Regions from separate parts of the Homo sapiens genome. Here region 2 is linked to region 1. The links are contacts of gene promoters, found by promoter capture Hi-C in blood cells and fetal thymus (Javierre and others, 2016). All regions are on one chromosome and are shown on one strand. Each heading gives the region's core, a stretch centred on a gene start or on the middle of the fragment in contact. The rest is flanking DNA. Distances are from core to core; before and after follow the strand shown. Region 1 holds the start of PADI3 (peptidyl arginine deiminase 3). Region 2 has its middle 3.6 kb from the start of NBPF1.

The links. Contacts are between HindIII fragments. The CHiCAGO score rates a contact against its expected background, and 5 or more counts as called.
Region 2: a contact is called between a fragment that was not itself captured here and the fragment with the promoter of PADI3 in region 1, in 1 of 17 cell types (neutrophils). The highest score is 6.1, in neutrophils.

The regions. Positions count from the first base shown.
Region 1 is chr1:17,246,252-17,252,425 of GRCh38, reverse strand. It overlaps PADI3 (peptidyl arginine deiminase 3), which reads right to left and starts at 3,328. Exons shown (of 16, transcript NM_016233.2): 1 at 3,197-3,328. The coding sequence starts at 3,288. The HindIII fragment of the contact is 2,587 bases long and covers 3,064-5,650 here.
Region 2 is chr1:16,614,089-16,620,262 of GRCh38, reverse strand. It overlaps the pseudogene CROCCP2. Among named protein-coding and RNA genes, the nearest start is that of NBPF1, 3.6 kb to the right of the region's middle. RefSeq lists enhancers at 1-373, 374-1,041, 1,042-1,710, 5,898-6,174. The HindIII fragment of the contact is 1,059 bases long and covers 2,156-3,214 here.

The DNA.
Region 1 (6,174 bases), core at 2,079-4,578:
GTCTTCAACAAAAAAAAAAAAAAAAGAAGAAGAAAAGAAAGCAGCTTTCTTCCTGCACCAAGACTTTGTGCTAAGGTTTGTGCTGATGCCTGAGCCTTGAGAAAGAGCTGTGTGGAACCAAGCAAACCACCTGGGCTGTGGAACTTGATGGGATCTGGGTTCAAGCCCTATAGCCCTGTGGGATAGCACTTGTCAGACCACCATCCCGCTGAGCCTGCCTCCAGTTGCAGGGAGGAGTTAATCAGCCACCAGACGCCCAGTGCATGGCTCAGTGCACCAGGGTACCCTTCCTTCCCTTTCCCCATCCTAAGACTCACTGCTCAAGAAAGAAAAGCCCCCATACCATGCCTGGGTCATCTCCAATTCATGGAAAGGCAAGAAGATAAAGTTGAATCCACTGCCACAGATAGAGAGGCCCAACAGACTTGCTTGTCCTCATCCTTCAAGGGTCTGATTGGTGCCCCTCCTCCAGGAAGACTGCCCTGACTCAGCCATGAGTCAGATGTAAATTTCTCTTTTCTCAACTCCTTCTCCCAATACGGTCCAGAGACTGTTCCCCAGACATCCTGCATATGGCAGGTTTGGGGATGCTTGAGGCTGTCCACAGGCCCAGGACAAAGCCTTAAACTGATGATGATGATAATGGTGACAGTTAACATAACTGAATGTTCACCACAAATCAGTATTAGTTACATGCTTTGCACACACAATCTCATTCAATGCCCCTAACTGCCCTTTGAAGTAAGGCCAAACTGGGTTACATCCTGGCTCTGCCACTCACTGGCCATGTGACCTTGGACAAGTTGTTTAACCTCTCTGTGCCTTTGTTTTCTTATCTATAAAATGACGATGATGACAGTGCCCACTTGAGAATTTTGTGAGAATTAGTTAACATATGGAAAGCGCTTACAGGCACTGCTGGGGAGTGGCATTCAGTGCCATTGCTGATATTATTATCATCCCCAGGCAACAGGTGAGGAAACAGAGACTCAGAGAAGTTAAAGGAGTTTCCCACGGTCAGAGAGCTGGGAAGTTGCAGAGCCAGGACTGAGCCACAACACCTACTGCCCTTTCTCTTGTTGGCCCGCAGGCTGAGGACCCAGGATTGTTACATCATGGCACCTCCAAGCCGGGAGGGACCTCAGAACTAACTCAGTCCTGCTCCCCTTCCCAGAAAGGAGTCCTTTCTGTGGCACCCTTGTAAGAAGGTTGTCCAGCCTCTGCTGGCTTCTCAGAGAGGAGGAGCTGCTTGTTCTCCCCTGTATGTGTCCCCAGAGCCTGTGCTCATCCTTCAAGGCTCTGAATGGTACACACACTAGACCCAAAAGAAATACTTGAAGAATATGTGAATGAACGAACTAGGAGCTCTCCACTCCCACCCCTGGGGGGTTTGGCCACCAGGGCCCAAGAATCCCTCATTTGAAGGTATCAGAGCTTCCATCCCCCACCCTGTGGCTGTCCCACCGATGGCCTTCTCTGCAAACCTCCAGTGTGGCTCAGGTGACTCCAGGAAGCTATGGCCTTTATCTCTTATTGCCCCAATCCATCCTCTATCCTCTAAGGAAGCTCTGCGGGGGAGGAGCCAGGCCCAGGCTTCCTGGGACAGGTCAAACCGGAGACACATCTGCCCAACGGGCACGAGGCAGCAGGGGCAGGTGAGTCACCCCATGGCACGCAGCCCAGTCACCCCATGGCAGGCAGGCAGTGGTGCCAAGTGGCAGATACCCCTCCTTCCTCATTACCTCCTTGGCACAGCCTCCGTGGCTGCCCCTTCCTTCAAGAACCACTGAATCCCCTTCCTCCTCCTACTGCCCACCCACCAATACCAGGATTTATTTCCTGGGCTGGCTCTGCTCCCGACTTGGTTCCCTCCCATGACCAGCTCCTCACCCCCTCTCATCCAATGCCCTGGATCAACCCCATCGCTGCTCCCGACTAAGTTCGCCCTGATTTTTCGAGTCTTAGTCTTGGAGACTCGTTCTCAATGGGTGGGCTATTTTCTTCCCACCCCAGGGCACATTTGGCAATGTCTGGGGACATTTTTGGTTGTCACAACTCGGGAGTGTGCTGCTGGTATCTAGCAAAGAGAGGCCCAGAATGCTGCTCTCCATCCTACAGTGCACAGGGTGGCCCCCATGACAAAGAGGTATCGTGACAGCAGTGCTGAGGTTGAGAAACCTGGCCTGAGGAGAGGGCTGGGAGACTTGAGAGGTGAGAGCTGTCCCACAGTTCTGCACCCTCCCCTCCCAGTATCCTGATTACCTCCAAGCCAGGACCCTGGATTCTCCCCAAAAGCCTAAGAAGCCAGCTCCCTGGTGGTCCCCAGAGCCCAGCTCTTAAAACCCTACCCTAACCCTCTTTTCTTCCTAAGAGAGAGAAGATAAGGCCTTACCTCCCTCTACCATGGGCCTCAAAGGCATGACCTGGCACACAGTAGGAGCATAATGCATGGGCATTGAGTGTCTAGAGGAAACCAGGTTGGAAATCTTTATTTTCCAAGTATCAGAGCAGCTAAAACCATAAGACTCCTGAGTAAGACCACAAGCGGGTTTAAACCCTGGCTTTGCCACTTAGTAACTGTGTGACTTGAGCAAATGGCTTGCCCTCTCTGCCTCGGTTTTCTCATTTGTCTGATGAGATGATGCTAATAATAAGCCTAGCTCACAGGGTTGTTGTAAGGGTTAAATTCAAGATTAAAGTTCAAAACTTAACTCAAGAGACTTGTGAAGCTCTTAGAATAGTGCCTGGCACATGGTAAGTGCTATGTATTAACTTATTTTTTAAAAATGATTCATGCTCTGTTTCTAGGCTCATAGGCTCAGGATGGGGCTGGGGATATCTGCCTGTTCCTATTCTTGTGTGCCCCAGACAGATCCTCAGCCCAACCTGCAGCATCCCTTGGACATAGAAAAGTGCCATCTCTTCGCGGCACCAGCCCCCTCCAAGCCCCCGGTCTGGAGCTCAGTCACTGAAGCCTCTTCTACCTGGCTCAGCCTCCCAAACTTCAAATTCCCTGGCTAAGGTCTTCAGGAAACTCAGTAGAGCAAGAGGAGGACCCAAGCTTCCCTGATTGGCTGCTGTTCCGAGGCCAAGGCTGGGGAGTGGGCCCTGAAGAAGCCCTGCCCAGCCTGCAGGGAGGAAGGTCCAAGGGCATCAGCACCAAGGGCCTGCAAACCACTAGGCCTCTGACTCTTACCCATAAATGTCCACGAGGGTCTCCACGCCAGCCACACACACCGCGCTGGTGGGATGCTCCAGGGACACACGCACGATTCTCTGCAGCGACATGCTGGTGTTGGACTTAGCTGTGGCCGCCAACCCCAACACTGCCCCTGAGGCCCCTTAGGATGAGGTTTAAAAGCCCCTGGCCCCACCCCTCCAGCCCAGGGTGCCAATTCATTGGCTCCAGTCATGAAAGCCCAGCCCCTTCCCAGAGCTGAGAGCTCAGGATTGGCTGGAAGGGACCCAGTATTTGTATACGAACCTGTTGTCCCGACCCCGGCACCCAGGAAGTTAATTTCTTGGGAAGCAAGTCCCCACAGGTACCTGGCTAGGCACCAGGAACTGTTGGGGGCAGGTGCTGTTGAGGGGGTGCAGAGATATATGATATTGATCTCGGACGCTTCTTGCTTCCTCACCTCCATTTTCTGCATTTTCAGAGACTATAATGGGGAGCTTTCTTACTCTGCTGGGGAAGCTGGTGAAAATGCGGATTCCCAGGTCTGTTGTCCACTCTGATCCAGCAGGTTAGGGGTGCAGCCTGGCCTCTGGATTTTTTTTTTTTTTTTTGAGACGGAGTTTCACTCTTGTTGCCCAGGCTGGAATGCAATGGTGCGATCTCGGCTCACCGCAACCTTCGCCTCCCAGGTTCAAGCAATTCTCCTGCCTCAGCCTCCCGAGTAGCTGGGATTATAGGCGTGTGCCACCACTTCCGGCTAATTTTGTATTTTTAGTAGAGACGGGGTTTTTCCATGTTGGTCAGGCTGGTCTTGAACTCCAGACCTCAGGTGATCCACCTACCTCGGCCTCCCAAAGTGCTGGGATTACAGGCATGAGCCACAGCACCCGGCCCTCTGGATTTTTTAATAAGCACCCCCAAAGCATTTTGGTGCCCTTTGAGAAACACCAACTTTTTTTTTTTAATGGATTTTAGAGCCAGACCTGGGTTTCAGCCCTGCCTCAGCTGCTTCCTGGATGGGCGACCTTGGGCAAGTTTCTTTTTTTTTTTTTTTTTGAGACAGAGTTTCGCTCTGTCACCCAGGCTAGAGTGCAGTGGCGTGATCTCGGCTCACTGCAAGCTCCACTTCCCGGGTTCACGCCATTCTCCTGCCTCAGCCTCCCGAGTAGCTGGGACTACAGGCGCCTGCCACGGCTCCCGGCTAATTTTTTGTATTTTTAATAGAGGCGGGGTTTCACCGTGTTAGTCAGGATGGTCTCGATCTCCTGACCTCTTGATCCACCCGACTTGGCCTCCCAAAGTACTGGGATTACAGGCGTGAGCCACCATGCCCGGCCGGGCAACTTTCTTAATTGTTCGTGCCTCACTTTTCTCGTCTGAAAAATGGTTGCTGTGAGGCCTCAGGGGCCAGCGTTGGTAGAGCTCTGGTATGGAGCTTGGCGTTATTGTATTACTATTGTTGCTGTTATTAGGTCCCAAAAACCTCTGAAAGCGGTAAATGATGAGGGTGAGAACTCTCTCCAGCCAGGGGGAGCTTGGCATGTCAGAGTAGGAAAGCTCAGTCGTCAGGTGGGAAACCGAAGTCAGAGGGGCATTCAGGCTCCTGGAAGAGCAGGAGCAAGGGCTCTGGGGAGAGAAGTCTTGGGTTCAGAGGCAGGCTCCACCGTGCACCCACTATAGGGCCTTGGGTGTCAGTGTCCCCCCTCTTGGAGACTCGGTTTCCTCATCTGTAGAAAATGCAGCTAATCACTGGCCCTGGCGGAGATAATAGTGAAGACGCACCCTGCCTGGCGGAGGCTCAGGAGGTGCTGAATAGAGGTTTCCTCCCTTCTCCCTGGCAGTGCTGACAGCCTGAGACAGGATGGGGACCAGGACCCGCTCCCCAGCATCTCCAGCTGGGACATCTGCACCAGTTCAAGGGCCTCAACAGGACCCTGAGATTGTCATTCCCATGTCTCAGTTTTTGGGAAAGATGTTCTTTTCAAGGAGAACTGCTGGGCTTCTGGGTCAAGGGACAGCTTCACTTTTTTCAGCTGTGGAATGGCTTGATGGCTGAGTCAGCCTTGGGAGCCCTGGGTAAGAGTTCGAGCTCAGGAGGAAGCCTTAGTCTCCCTAGCCTTCTTGTGAGCACAGATGGGGAATAGATGCAGAAAGTAGGGGCTTTCCCTGGGGTGCTGGCCCACTACCTGCCTCTTTCTCGGAGAACTGTATATGTCTTTGGAAGGAGACTCATGCCTTCACTTCTCCTCTGTTAATACCAACTTTTAGAAACAGGTTTGTGGTTAATTCAGACTAAAGTGTCAATGACTAATAGGCAGCAACTTTTTGCCCTCTTACTCCACAACAAAAGCTAAAATAAAGTGAGTGAGTATCAAACGGTGTAATTTGAGGCAGCAGCAAATGTGTAGGATGAGAGGGTGATGATTTCAGGCATCCAAAATCAGACCACTGAAGCCAGGTAACTTAGAAGCTTCAGACACAAAAATGGAAGGGAATTGGGCCAGGCACAGTAGCTCACACCTGTAATCCCAGCACTTTGGGAGGCCAAGATGGGAGGATCGCTTGAGCCCAGGAGTTTGAGACCAGCCTGGGTAACATAGCAAAACCCCAGCTCCGTAAAAAATAAATTAGCAATTAGCTGGGCATGGTGGCCTGTGCCTGTATTCCTAGCTACTCAGGAGGCTGAGGTGGGAGGATCGCTTGAGCACAAGAATTCAAGGCTATAATGAGCTGTGATAGCACCACTGCACTCCAGCTTGGGTGACAGAGCAAGACTCGGTCTCAAACAAAAGAAAAGAAAACAAAACAAAACGAAAACCAGAAAGGGAACTGTAGTGGCCTGTGGCCCTGGGAACCAGCCCTGCTGGGGAACTCTCACCTCTGTTAATAGGGCCCGGGCTGCCTCCCCGACCTGTTGTCCCTGAGAGATGGAGGGGATGCTGAAGGAAGAGAGAAGAGATGAAGAGGCAGGACCCATCCCTCCCCTGATCTGATCT
Region 2 (6,174 bases), core at 1,436-3,935, 630 kb after region 1:
TACTTGTCTCTCCGCAGGGGATCATGTTCGGACCCCCAGGCCAGCCCACTGCTGCTCCTTGGCACTTTCACGGCCCTGGCGTGTCCCCGTCATAGCCCTTATCAGTCCCTTGTATTTACCTGGTCACCCTCCATCTCTGAGGGTATGGGGGCCAGATGGCTCTTGCTGCCCTGATGTTTTGGGGGGTCTGCCTGGGCCCCTCCTGGTGTGTCACACGCGTCCAGTCCTGGCCCCCTAGGAGGCAGCATGGCGGGAGCTGGAGGCCGAGCGGGCCCAGCTGCAGAGTCAGCTGCAGCGTGAGCAGGAGGAGCTGCTGGCCCGGCGGAAGGCTGAGAAGGAACAGCTGAGTGAGGAGATTGCTGCCCTGCAGCAGGAGCATGACGAGGGCCTCCTCCTGGCCGAGAGCGAGAAGCAGCAGGTTCGTGAGCCCTGGCGTGGCCTCTGCTGCTCTCTGAGCTGCTCCAGTTCTGGGGCCGGGCCCTGCTCTGCCACTTGGCAGCTAGGAGCCCTGGGGCAGGCCACTGCCCTCTTGGGGGCCTCAGTTTCCTTACCTGCAGGAGGGGAGGATTAGAAGGGGGTTCGTGAGGCTTTGCTGTGCTCCATGCCTGGCACACAGTGAGCACTTACTGAGTGACAGTGACAGTCGTGACACCAGGAAAGCTGTTCCATATTCTCCCATGCCTCGTCCCACCCCACGCTGGGCATGGATCCTCATGGCTGCCTTCTGAGCAGTCCCCACGATGCCCACAGGCATCAGCTGACGTGTCCCCCCAAATAACAAATCCCTAACTTTCCTATAATGTAACGGAGACAGGGCAGACTGTGCCCATCTCCTCTCCTCACCAGCTGTGTACCTGGGCGAGTCACTTTACCTCCTTGAGCCTCAGTTTCCTCATCTGTAAGATGGGTAGAAAGAAAGACTCTGCAGTCAGGGTGCTGTGGCGGGTTAGTGAGCTCTATGAGTGGTATCCACGTCCGGGATTCTTGTGACTGCCGTTGTGCCCTTTTCCAGGGCTGCATGTCTGCCCTGGGTCCACCTGCAGTGGCACACTCAGGCCTCTAAGCCCCCAGTGGGCACATTTCCTAGGCAGCAAGAAGCCTGAGCATGCCCCCAGGACCAGCCCATCCCCCAAGCCCTTTGTCCCCTGCCTCTGCCCAGGCCTTGTCTCTGAAGGAGTCTGAGAAGATGGCGCTGTCAGAGAAGTTGATGGGTACACGGCACAGCCTGGCCACCATCTCCCTGGAGATGGAGCGGCAGAAACCAGATGCCCAGAGCCGGCAGGAGCAGGACCGGGTAGGCCTGCCGTCGTAGGGAGGCTTGCGGAGCAGGAGCGCCCTCTCTCCACCGAGCTATCCCGCGGTTTCCAGCATCCCATCTGGCGGACTCCTCTTCCTCTCTCTTCTCCTACTCTGGGTCTTCTATCCTGGTGTTCCTTGAATGCCTATCTTCCTTTTGTGCCTCGGAACCTCTCACGCCTGCCACAAGTTACTCTTTTCCTTGGTAGTTCTGAACTTTAAATAAGGTAATGCCTGTAAGAATGCCATAAATGCTCAATAATTGTCATCTGTTATTATTTTCATCAGTAACATCATCTGAATCATCAGTATTGTCTGCTTTTAACAGCTGCATTTTTCATTGTCCAAATATAGTCACATACATTTGACCATTTTATAATTATTGAATAATAAATTTGTTCTGCTATTTTACAATGAAAAATAATGCTGCAGAGAGCATTTTTGCACATGTATCGTGGCAGATGTAGGCCAGAGGCTCTTCTTTTATCCATCCTATGGCCAACCTATGAATGTATACACGTTTAATGAGATTTTGCCAGCAATCAAAGCCTTCAGGGAAAATGTCCCTAGCTCTTTACTACATCAGATCAAGGACTCTGGATAATTGGCATAACATCCTGGAATAGCTGAAACAGAGATATTATTCTCTGCTCTCCTCTGTTGTCTTTGTCTTTTCACGTCTTAATAAAAGTGCTGGTGACAAGAGTGTAACTATGTCAGTGTTCTCCTGCTGTCCTTGCCTGTGTGGGTCTTCTCCCAAACCCGACTTTCCTCCAGCGGCTTCACTGAAAAAGAGGAGGGGGCTGTGGGGGGTGGGTCGGGGAGCAGAGGAGGAAATAAACTGGATAGGGAGGAAGCTTCTCACAGGCCCGGAGAGGGTAAGGAAGGGAGTCAAAGACAGAATTTTCTTCAGCAAACAGTAAAAGGGGAAATCTGGGGATGCTAAGAGTTTTTAAACCCTTTGCTCCATCACATAAGTAATCCATGATTTTCTGTTCCACAAATCAGGACTCCTACTCCTCCCTCCCTCCCCATCCCCAATCCTGATTCCTGTTTACAAAGAATGTTGAAAAACAAGGAATTATGTATAACAGTTCCCAGTTTGCTCAGGAAATTCTCAGATTATAAAGAGACATTACAAATGAACAAGTGAAGAGAAGAACCTTGGTGGTTCCAACATAGTATGGCCATTGTTTTATACTCAAAATATAGAAAGACAACCTCAGAATAAGAAAACTTTTGGAATGGAATAAATCAAGTTTATCATTAAAATGCAAAGAAAAAAACTCTCCAAATGTTGCTGATCTTCTATTTTAAACTACTGTTAGACCGGAGAAGCGGAGAGCAGGGGAATCCGCCAAAGAGTTTTGGATGAAAATTAATCAGCCCTGTCTACCGTAGTCACACCCCACTGCCCTTGAGACCCAATCCTTCGGAAGGAGTGTCCAAGAGGTATAAAGCAAAACGAAAAAACAGTTCGCAAATTCCAGAGTTCGTTTTCTCTCATTAAAAATATAAATATCAGGCTAACACATGTTGACACACAATAACAGGGACACAGAATCCCTCCTGGAAGACCGACGGGCCCACGGACCCCACGGGTGCCACGGTGGTGGACGAGGTTAAGTAACTTGGTTCAGGGTGTCTGGGCACACCTCTGCGTGAGACTCTGTCTCTGCTGCTCCTCTCATCTCTACGCCGATTCCTCCCCACAATCCTCCCTTTTCCTTGGGCCCCCGACGCCTCTCCGACCAACAGTCTCCCCAGCCCCGCAGCTTCTCTCTTTCAGACCTTTACTTCTTGATCCTCACTCCATAGTGAGATGTGGCCTTTCAGCAAATAAATTGTGCTCAGGGAGACTGAAAGAAAGGGGTAAACCAGGATTAGTGCTGCAGGGTCAGAGCTAATGACACAAGCTTCTCTCCTCAGGCCTATTCATTTGAGATGCATCTCAGGCACTTAGGCACAGCAGTGCTAAGTTAGTACCAATTATATACATGCACACATAAATATATAAAAGCATATAAATATTACATATGTAAATATAAATTGTACCAATAAAATCGACATCAAGCTTGTTTTTAATCATTCACTCAAAATACATTGAACAGCTACTGTGCAAAGTCTTGGGACTGCTTAGAAACTTAAGACAAAAATATTGGGCCTGTAGTCCCAGGTGAAGCCTAGGCAGGAGGATGGCTTGAATGAAGGAGTCCAAGTCCAGCCTGGGCAGCATAGTGAGACTCAGTCTTTTTTTTTTTTTTCTCTGAGATGGAGTCTCACTCTGTCGGCCAGGCTGGAGTGCAGTGGCACAATTTTGGCTCACTGCAACCTCCACCTCCCAGGTTCAAGCGATTCTCCTGCCTTAGCCTCCTGAGTAACTGGGATTACAGGCACGTGCCACCACACCTGGCTAATTTTGTATTTTTAGTAGAGATGGGGTTTCACCATGTTGGCCAGGCTGGTCTCGAACTCCTGACCTCAAGTGATCCACCCACCTTGGCCTCCCAAAGTGTTGGGATTACAGGCATGAGCCACCGTGCCCGGCCGAGACTCAGTCTTTAAAATAATGAAGTAAAATAAAAACATAAACCTCAAACAAAAAGACAAACTATGATTTCAATCATTGTGAAGCTCTTGATCTAGTAGATGATATATATATATATATATATACATATACCAAAAATACTATAATTTCAGAGAAGTGCTATAGAGTCTAATGTTTAACAACTTCTGGCATTTGACTGATGGTGTTTAAAGCTCTTCCCGCATTTTCCAGGGGTATAAATCGAGGCAAGTTATTTGGTATTTACTGCATTTTGGCTTCTTCATATGCAAGGGGGTTATGATAATAATACCTACCCCATGAGGACGGTATGAGGACTAAAGAAAATCGTGTATGTATAGCCTCGGCCAATGCCCATAGACACTGAGTACTCAACTAGGTGTTAGCTAGCAGATTTTAAATTTGCATTTATTCGTATAGTTTTTAAGGTAAAATTTACATTCATTGAAATGTTAACTGTATGTTTTTTGACAAATGAATACACTTATATAACTCATATCCCTATCAAGACAGAGACCATTTTTACCACCCAGAAATTTCTCTCATGTAACTTCCCAGTCAATCCCCTGCCAGAGGGAACCACTGCTATGATTTTTTCACCACAGATTAATTTTCCCCTTTCTAGAATTTCAAATAAATGGGAAGGTATGTGCTCTTTTGTGTCATTTATCTTCACAGACTTTGAAATAAAAAAGTTACAATTTTAAACCTTTTGGGCATTTAGTAAAAATCTCCTTCCCACCAGTAGCCACCAGTCACCAGTCTTCATTTCTCTCTCTCTCTCTCTCTCTCTTTGAGACAAGATCTTGCTCTGTCATCCAGGCTGGAATGCAGTGGCATGATCATGGCTCACTGCAGCCTCAACCTCCTGAGCTCAAGCAATCCTCCCACCTCAGCCTCCCAAATAGCTGGGAGTACAGGTGCCCGCCACCACGCCTGGCTAATTTTGCTTGTATTTTATGTAGAGACAGGGTCTCACCAAGTTGCCCAGGTTAGTCTCAAACTCCTGAGCTCAAATGATCTGCGGGCCTTGGCCTCCCAAAGTGCTTGGATTACAGGTATGAGCCACTGTGCCTGGCTCAGTCTTCCTCTCTTAAAGCAACCAATGTTATTAGTTTTATGTGGGCCACCCCATGGCTTATCATTATTAATTCAGGTGTTTATACAAGGCTCTTTGAGAACTCAGTTTTAAAGGTTACCCAAAGCATCCTAAGACAACTCAGCCTAAAACGATATAAAATCAGTTTTAATATAACTGAAGTTTCTACATTCTGACTCCAACTGTCAGATTGTGACATTTTCTCTTTCTCTGACTTTATGCCAAATTTACTTCAACTTCTAGCATCCATCATTCTCATTTATGAACAAATATGTATTTAACAAATGTGGAAATACAAATCATGAAGCAAACAAAACCAAACCCTGGGCTTACGTAGCCGATAGTAAAAAATTCACCAAAATAACCACCCGATTACAGTTTCATGCAATGTGATAGGAGTAAGGGACCACCATAGGGAGGTCAGAAGGTGCTTTTCAGAGGTGGAGACTACAGCTGTTCTCAGAAGAATAGGGGTTAGAAGAACTTTCCAGGCACAGAGCAAAGCATGAGCAAAAGCTCTGTGGAGGCCAGGAAGCTGGTAAATAGGGAATAAAAGAGGCCAGTTTGGCTGGAGCAGAGAGAGCAGAACAGAATTGGTCTGAGTAGTGAGAAGAGATGAAGAAGTGGGCAAGGCGCCTGGCCATTCGGGGCTTGGTTAGTTAGGAGGTTTTGTCTAAGAGAATGGGAAGGTGTTTAAGTGCTTTAGGCTGGGAAGTGACACGGTCACATTATATTTTGGAAAAGCCACTCTGCCTGTTGTGTTGAGATTAGAGAGGCGATAAAGGGGATATGGGTAAACCACAAGAAGACTAGGTCAGTAGTCCCTCGACCCTCACTCCCCAGGTGAAGGCAGCCTAGACTAGGGTGGTGACGGAGGAGATAGAAGAGGACAGATTCAAGGAAAATTTGGAAGGTAAAAACCAGTAGGATTTGCTGACGGATGGAGTATAGGAGGGGAGAGGTAGATTATCAGGGATGTATCTTAGTTTTCTTATACAAGATAGATTCAGTTGCAATGAAATTGTTAACTGAAATTGACTTTAAATAATGGCATGACCTAAAGTTATGCAAACATTTGCCTTAGATAAAATATCAAGTTTTCAAAGTTTTTAGCTGGGTGGACGGCATGGCTTTACTTCCTATTTCTTGGTATTCTAATCCTGTTGAAAAAAAAAGTTTTTCTTTTTCTCAAAGGCTTATTTCAGTGGAAGCC